2 separate regions of the Homo sapiens genome follow, and region 1 is linked to region 2. The links are contacts of gene promoters, found by promoter capture Hi-C in blood cells and fetal thymus (Javierre and others, 2016). All regions are on one chromosome and are shown on one strand. The core of a region is centred on a gene start or on the middle of the fragment in contact, and the rest is flanking DNA. Distances in the headings are between cores, read along the strand shown. Region 1 has its middle 38 kb from the start of MTHFD1. Region 2 holds the start of AKAP5 (A-kinase anchoring protein 5).

Region 1 (4,389 bases), core at 1,740-4,239, 110 kb before region 2:
TATAAAGAAATAATCAAATATGTGGATAAAGATTCACACACGGGCCGGGCACTGTGGCTCAAGCCTGTAATCCCAGCATTTTGGGAGGCTGAGGAAGGCAGATCACGAGGTCAGGAGATCGAGACCATGGCCAACATGATGAAACCCGGTCTCTACTAAAAATACAAAAATTAGCTGGGCGTGGTGGCAGATGCCTGTAATCCCAGCTACTGAGGAGGCTGAGGCAAGAGAATCGCTTGAAACCGGAAGGCGGAGGCTGCAGTGAGCGGAGATTGCACCACTGCACTCCAGCCTGGGCGAAAGAGCGAAACTCCGTCTCGGGGAAAAAAAAAAAGACTCACACAAAGATATTATTTATTTTATTTTATTTTTTAAGTTAGGGTCTTGCTCTGTCGCCCATGCTGGAATGCAGTGGCGTTATCACAGCTCACTGAAGGCTTGACCTCCCAGGCTCAAGTGATCCTCCCATCTCAACATCTGGAGTAGCTGGGACTACAGGGTGTGCACACCCGGGCTTTTTTTTTTTTTTTTTTTTTTTTTTTTTCCCTCAATCTCCTGGGCTCAAGTGATCCTCCTGCGTTGCTCATCCAAGGTGCTGGTATTACAAGGGTGAGCCACTGCACCCGGCCATAAAGATATTCAGATATTCTTTTTGAATATCTGAGAGTTTCGCTCTTGTGGCCCAGGCTGGAGTGCAATGGCATAATCTTGGCTAAATGCAATCTCCGCCTCCTAGGTTCAAGTGATTCCCCAGCCTCAGCTTCCCGAGTAGCTGGAATTACAGGCGCTTGTCACCATGCCTGGCTAATTTTTTTATTTTTAGTAGAGACAGGGTTTCACCATGTTGGCCAGGCTGATCGCAAACTCCTGACCTCAGGTGATCCGCCCACCTTGGCCTCCCAAACTGCTGAGATTACAGGCATGAGCCACCGCACCTGGCCCACAAAGATATTCTTTACAACATTATTCATAATAGAAAAAACTGAAACAATGCAAATGTCAAAAAAGAAAAATTATTATATGATAGATTATTCCCTAGAAATTAAGTTTTCAAAAATATTTATTAAGAAAAATTAACAATGATGTAGTTAATGAAAAAAGCAGGATTAAGAAAAACTATGTACATCTCAATGATGATAAAAATATACATGGAAAATAATCAGAGGGAAATATACCTATATTTAATACTAGTTATCGCAAAATGGTGGGATTACTGGTGATTTCAATTTTATTTCTATTATTTTCTACTTTACAAATCTTCACTAATACACATGATTTTTTAATTTTTTGAGACAGGGTCTCACCCTGCCGCTCAGGCTGGAGTGCAGTGGTGCAATCACAGCACACTGCAGCCTCGACCTCCCGTGCTCAACCCATCCTCCCACCTAAGCCTCCCCAGTAACTGGGACTACAAGTGTGCACCATGCCTGGCTAGTTCTTAAATTTTTTGTAGAGATGGGGTGTTGCCATGTTGTCCAGGCTGATCTCAAATTCCTGGGTTCCAGCTATCCACCCACCTCAGCCTCCCTAAGTGCTGGAATTACGGACATGAGCCACTATGCCCAGCTGAATTAATTTTATTATGAGAAAAAAATTAGTTATAAAATGTTATTACAAAAAAGTTATGGTAAATGTTTTAATCCATTACAAGAAATAACATATTAAGGAACAAGAATCAGAATGGCATATTTTCCTCAATAACAACCCTAGAGATTAGAAGACAATGAAGTCCGTGTGTGAAAATAAAGTCTAAACCCAGCTATCAATTGAGTATGATGATTCAAACAAAAAAAGACATTGTCATTCACACAAGGACCTCAAAAAATGTCGCTCTCCAAGGCACCATTTCTTAGGAAGCCATTGGAGGATGTGTTCCAGTAAAATAAGAAAGGAAACCAAAAAAGAGGAAGAAATGTGATTCGGCAAACAATGAAACCTAACCAGGAGATTAGAGAAGGAAAGTCATGGCATCATGGCTGTGCTCAGGCCCACAGAGTAAAATCCAGACTGAAGCAAGGGAATGAAGGACTTTGGGAGAGAAAAAATGGGAGATTTTTAAAGACTAAAGGATCATCTGATACAGATTTAGGCAGGAAAAAAACCTTGATAAATGAACACTGAAAATTAAACGTATGAAAATATAAGGAAGGTATTAACTGTAGGAAAAATAAAATGCAATACAAGAAAGAAAATGTACCAAGAATATAGTACTTCATGCTTTTGTAAACATTTAGTATCACGGTAAAGTAAATGCTGATTATGCATTTAGCTTAAAATATCAATATAACCAGATTGGGAAGATGAAAGGAGCAGGTAGGAAAGTGGTATGAGAGATGAAATTTCATCTATCATATAACAGGAAATCAACAACATGTCTAATATAGATAACTCGAGATAAGGCAGTTTAAAATTGTTTAGGAAAATGGAAGTTACTATCAGAAACAGCTAAAAGAGTTAAAGAGTTCCCTCTGGGAAATAAGAGAGGTACAGAAGAGGGCTGCTCCTTTTCAATAAAAGACTCTTGGTATATTTGATTTTGAAAAGTGTGTGTGTGTGTGTGTGTGTGTGTGTGTATAAAGGGTTAAAAAAATTCTAGGCTGGGTGCGGTGGCTCACGCCTGTAATCCCAGCACTTTGGGAGGTCGAGGCATGGGGATCACCTGAGGTCAGGAATTCGAGACCAGCCTGGCCAAGGTGGTGAAACCCCACCTCTACTAAAAATACAAAAATTCACTGGGCATGGTGGTGCACACCTGTAATCCCAGCTACTAGGGAGGCTGAGGCAGGAGAATTGCTTGAATCTGGGAGGCAGAGGTTGCAGTGAGCCGAGATTGCACCACTTCACTCCAGCCTTGGCAACAAGAGTGAAACTCCGTCTCAAAAACAAAAAACAAACAAACAAAAATTCTGAATACCTTCAGCCAAAAAATGGAAATCAACACTAAAATTACAAAAATACATAGAACACAGTGAAAAGAAACATTTCTTATAAAAATCTATTGGACAAGCTACAGAGGAACATTCAATAGTACTTACTCTTTTTCTGATTTAAAAACAAAAGACAAAAAAAGCACATTTACTTAAGAAGGGAAAAGAGAAAGTAGGGTGCAGATTTAATAAACATACTATATATATTCATTACATATAAACCAAAATAAACTAATAAAATGTGTATTTATTTATTTATTTATTTATTTTTGAGACAGTCTCGCTCTGTTGCCCAGGCTGGAGTGCAGTGCCACAATCTCAGCTCAATGCAACCTCCACCTCCCTGGTTCAAGTGATTCTCCTGCCTCAGCCTCCCAAGTAGCTGAGATTAGAGGTGCACACCACCATGCCCAGTTAACTTTTGCATTTTTAGTAGAGACAGGGTTTTACCACGTTGGTCAGGCTGGTCTCGAATTCCTGACCTCAAGTGATCTGCCCACCTCAGCCTCCCAAAATGCTGGGATTACAGGGTGAGCCAGCGTGCCAGGCCATAAAACGTATATTTTAAAAAAAGAACTGGCCAGGCACGGTGAATCATGCCTGTAATACTAGCACTTTGGGAGGCCGAGGCGGGAGAATCACTTGAGCTCAGCAGTTTGAGACCAGCCTGGGCAACATGGCGAAACCTCATCTCTACAAAAACTTCAAAAAGCTAGCCAGGCGTGGAGGCGTGCACCTATAGTTCCAGCTATCTGGGAGGCTGAGGCAGGAGGATCACTGGAGCCCTGAAGGTTGAGGCTTCAGTGAGCCATAATCATGCCACTGCACTCCAGCCTGGACAATAGACAGAGCCAGACCCTGTCTCAAAAAGAACCACTGGTTCTTTGGAAAGATAAAATAGATGCCTCAGGCAAGCCTGGTTAAAAAGGAAAGAGAGAAAGTGAAAATACACAATATTAGAAAGGAGGAATATACAGAATATATAGATATGCATACAGAATGGATACAGAATGCAAAGATAAAAATAATTCTAAGAGAACATTTTGCAACTTAGGGGCAGTAAATTGAAAATCTAAAAGAAATAAAGGCTGTAATTCCAGTACTTTGGGAGGCAGAGATGGGCGGATCATTTGAGCCACAAGGAGTTCAAGACCAGCCTGAGCAACATGGAAAGACCCCATTTCTACAAAAATTAGCTGGGCATAGTGGTGTGCACCTGTGGTCCCAGCTACTCGGGAGTCTGAGGCAAGAGGAGCACTTGAGCCTTAGGAGGTTGAGGCTACAGTGAATCGTGATGGTAACACCACATTCCAGCCTGGGAGGCAGAGCAAGACTGTCTCAAAAAAAAAAAAAAAAAGACAGTTCTCCCATGAGCTGGTCCAAACTGTTCCACCTTTAGAATCAAATTATTTATAAAATAAATAAGTGAAATTTTAAAAATACATTATTTCCTAGGAAACAA
Region 2 (4,538 bases), core at 569-3,068:
CAGCTGCATGGGAGGCTGAGGTGGGAGGATTGCTTGAGCCAGGGATTGTACCACTGCACTCCAGCCTGAGCAAGACCCTGTCTCAAATAAAAATAAAAATAAGACAGCTATTTTACCCTGTCTTCACCTAAATAAGCTCATCTTATTTTTTGCCTGAAACTCTTGCAAACTCCCAGGTCTGCTAGTTTTGAGAAACCTTGGATCTCAATAAGGAATAGTTCTCAATTGCTTATAAGCATAATGGATTTCTTTTGGCTTAAAGTTCAAAACTGGCAACAAGCAGCGCTAGCAACCCATAGAGAGATACGCAGACCATTTCGATAGACGTGTTTGCTGAGTGAACAAGGCTGACTGAATTTTTTTTTTTTTTTGAGGCAGGGTCTCACTTTGTTGCCCAGGCTGGCGTGCAGTGGTGCAGTAGTGGCTCACAGCAGCCTTGACCTTCTGGGCCCAAGTGATCCTCCCTTCTCAGCCTCCTGAGCTCCTGAGTAACTGGGACCATACGTGCACCACCATGCCCAGCTAATTTTTTAGATTTTTTTGTCTCCCTATGTTGCCCAGGCTGGTCTCAAACTCTTGGACTCAAGCCATCCTCCTGCCTTGGCCTCCCAAAGTGCTGGGATTACAGGTGTGAGCTACTGCGCCCATCCCTGAATTCTTAATTACAACTAAACTAGATGCTTATGGATTTTCCTGTTTTACAACTCTTGCCTCTTTTATCTGTAATTTTAAGATCTTGACAGCTTATATTTGGCTTTGCTTTTGTGTCTCAAGAGTTCTTTCCTTGATAAGCCTCTGTGGAAACTACAGAATCTTACAAATATAAAACATTTCCGGAAAAAATACAAAAATGGACACCTGACATTTACACTCCCTAAGGTCGTGATCCTGTTGAAGAAAGGAGATGAACGCGGCTGCTTTTCAGTAGTTCTTCACTTCACCTTACCAGGTTCTTCATCTGGATGCTATGCTATGGGGGCCAGAGGAGGAGGCTGGGATTGTGATGGATCCTACTAGATTTTACAGCTGGAGCTCCCAGGAATGCCCTCATAGGGAATGTCCTGAAGGGAATCATGGGTAACTTGTAAGCTACCTCAACTTATTTTTGGAACTATGTAAGGTATAAGATGGATGGAGCTGGGTTCCTGTGCCTTTCTCACCTTGTCCGCATAGAGATGCAGCTGCTCCTGCAGGCCAAAGTTCTGCACCAATCACCTCCACCTGCTTCCCACTGGGAGACAAAGGTTTGAAAGCCTGTTTGGCGATGAACCACGATGATCTGACACTCAAGCCACTCCTGAGAAAGTCGGGTTTCTTTCTGTTTCCATTTATATATGTAATTTTCGCTTCAAACAAACATGACCTCGCTATTCTATGCACAGTTTTGAATCCTGCTTTTAAAATGCGATGTCTGCCTTGTCTTTAAATATTCTGAGGGGGAGGAGAGGAGATGTGTAATGCGACTGTCTATAATTTGAAACCGGACCTCACTATTTAGCGTCTCAGAAAACGCGGGGTTCATTGCCCTGGTCCCCCCCGCCTTCCCCCGCCCCCCGAACCTTCCGGCTGGCTCTCTTGCGGTCCCCGCCTCGGCGCTGATGTGGTCTGGCAGTGGAGATTGGCGCCCGGGCGGAGCACGATGGGCTTCCCCGCGGCAGGCAGGCAGGCTGCTGCTGCAGGTGGGTCCCGGCGCCCGCGCCGCCCCGCGCCTCCGGCGGTCGCCCCGCCCCTGCCCGCCCGCTCCGCTCCGCTCGCATTGGCGCTGCCTGCTGTCTGTCCCCGCGCGGTGGGGAGGGGGCGCACCCGGCGGCGGGCTCTGCAGAGGGCGCCTTGCTCCGGGTGCGACCGCGGCTCCCTGGAGGCCTGGGCGGCGGGCCCCGCGAGCGCGCCGCCACCTCGGGAGCAGTGTTGGCCAAGGACCCCGACGCCCTACGTAAGTAAAGGCAGGGCGGGGAGCCTGCGGGGGAGGAGGGTCGGGGGCAATGTCCGGTCCGCGGACCGCGGAGTGGGCAAGAGGTGCCCACTGGATACGGGGTATCCGAGCCCTCTGAGGTGCTGGGAGTAAGAACGCGGGAGGTCGCTTGTCCGCTGGAATCCGCGGCCAGGGCGACCCTCATCAGGTCTGCCCACCTATCCCCTTCGCGTTACAGCTTGTCTTAGAAGCATGGGTTGCCGGTGGCTTTTTTCCTTCTTTATCCCTCTTTGAGAAATGTGATTTTGGGTTTCTGGCCATTACATTATAATTCTGCAGACAGCCTGAAGCTGGGTTATCTGTTCCACGCCCCCGGCATTTTCCTTTTTGAGTACTTTATCCTGCGCTCTGTCTCCTGCCATAAGGGGCGTCAAGCCAGAATTCGAGATTCCTTCCTCCAGGAGGAAGCTTCGTGGTCCGTATCTGGTGCTGGGAAAGATGCATTGCTTTCCTCGGGTACTGGCTGCTCAAGGGAAAAAGGAAAGGGGGTGTTTTCTGTGACATGAGACTTGCAATTCCATCAGGAAATGAGCACAGGGACTTTAAGATTTCCTGAGGCGATAAAGCTACCCTTGCTGGTTAAGAGCGAATCATTTGCAGTCTGACATTCTGCAAAGTTTTATTGTCTACAGACTGCATTATTTTCCCTCGTTAGTTAAGTTTCTGTTTGGGTATTCGTTTTATTTCTAGTATGTGAGATACATTCAAGTGAGCTTCTCAAACGATTGTCTTTGCGCAATCCAGGTTAGTTTCCAATGACAGACTCCTAAACATCTCATTTCAATATTTCTATTATGTGGTAATACAGCCTCTGCTTAACAAAAATGCTCAGGTGCTGAAAACTCACAAGAGGTGAGAAGATTTAAACAGTTATCAGCTTAGGTTCTAGTGCTCACTGAAACATTGTGAGGAGAAACACTGTCAAATGTTCATATTTTAGTTCCGTCATTGTTCTAGAATGACTTTATCTTTCTGTTAGAGGCACACAGTATGAAACACCCAACCTAAGATAATATTTACTTAGATCATAAACTGATTTTCAGGGTTCCAGTTCCTTCTACAGTTCATAAAATTATGGGTTACCCAAATGAAACTTCAGTGAAGGATTTACATAAAAACAATATAAAGAATGAGTCCCTTTGCTTATTTTAGGGCATCCACCCACTAAAATTCATAGGATCTTTGTTGGATAATCACCTCCCATTTCCATTCTTTGGTGCCATCATACCATTCTAAGGATTAAATTTTCAATACACCTTTATATTATCTAAGTTTGCCAATTGCATAGTTTGCCAACTTATTTTTGGCTTTTAAATTAGTTCCTGAACCAAAAAAATAAAATATAAAGAATTTCAAAAGCTTGGTTTTCAAATGACAAGAACTCAGTCTACTCGTGGTTCAATTATGAGTTGATAAGTGCCTTATGGTTAAATGACCATTAATCAATTTTTTAATTTTTTTACTAATGAAACACTGCAGATTAGTATCCCCAAACAATTCATTTTCTGACGAAACTCTTAAAGCCCAGTTTCAGAACATAAGCTTTAAGCAACAAGCAATCTTGTGTTAATCTGAGCTCTGTTACAGCTCTGCCGTAATCTCAGCCAAATTGCTTCATCTGTACGTGGTGATACCACCATCTTTGTAATATTGTGGTGAGGATTAGAGATGTATGTAAAAGTGCATGCACTGCCTAATACCCAAGAATTGCTCAATAAATGTCAGCTATTACTACTCTTACTGACTTCCAACTATGTGCAGATTATGGTGGAAACATGTGATACAGCAGATACAGTACTTAAATGAAAATGTCAAAATTGTACAACTAATTTAAGAGTGGGAAATGACAGTAATGCTAAATTTTCCTAAGAATATGTATGAAAAATAGCACTTCCTTGATGGAACATACATTTTTAGAACAGAAACCTTATGTTATAATGGTAAAACTAGAGAGTCAAAGTCTCTAGTTCTAACTCTGGCTATGACCTTATCTAGTTGCATGGCTTTTGACAAGACAACTGCTCCCCTCTGGAGTTCAGTTTTGTCATCTGGCTGGATTTGAGTAATCTCAAATAATCTCTAAAGTCCTTTGCAGCTTTAAAATTATCTATTGAGTGTGATAAAGATTACATCAGCTTGCTTTTCATCCTGCACTTCATTTTTGGTTCTTGTTGTTTGCTTAACTTGCACTTTAGAGTCATAAGCAATTCACACAGACAACACAACTAAAGAACTGATAATATCAGACTTGCAGGGTAATCCAAAATGAAGTTTCAACAAGGAGGATAAAACAAAATAGAATCACACTGAACTCTTTAATAGGGCCAAAGTAAACCCCAATGTTTATTCTCCAGTCATTTCATTAAGTTATTATATGGAAAATATGCCTGGTAGAATCTTATACATTCACTGAAATAGTCTCCACAGAAAATAATAGGCTCATAGTGAAATAAAATACCACTTTCTTTTCTCTCATCAGGTTGATCTTTAAATAAAGCAAAAATTTATCCAAAGAAGGGCTTTCATCAAGAAATTAAAGAGAGAAATTACAAGCCATAGAGAAACT

What was found. Contacts are between HindIII fragments. The CHiCAGO score rates a contact against its expected background, and 5 or more counts as called.
Region 1: a fragment that was not itself captured here is called in contact with the fragment with the promoter of AKAP5 in region 2 in 1 of 17 cell types (megakaryocytes); the score reaches 5.6 in megakaryocytes.

The regions. Positions count from the first base shown.
Region 1 is chr14:64,348,034-64,352,422 of GRCh38, forward strand. No RefSeq gene overlaps it. Among named protein-coding and RNA genes, the nearest start is that of MTHFD1, 38 kb to the right of the region's middle. The HindIII fragment of the contact is 7,082 bases long and covers 1-4,389 here.
Region 2 is chr14:64,463,681-64,468,218 of GRCh38, forward strand. It overlaps AKAP5 (A-kinase anchoring protein 5), which reads left to right and starts at 1,819. Exons shown (of 2, transcript NM_004857.3): 1 at 1,819-1,933; 2 at 4,452-4,538. It also overlaps a transcript of ZBTB25 not described here. RefSeq lists silencers at 1,614-2,013, 2,024-2,093. The HindIII fragment of the contact is 7,002 bases long and covers 1-2,378 here.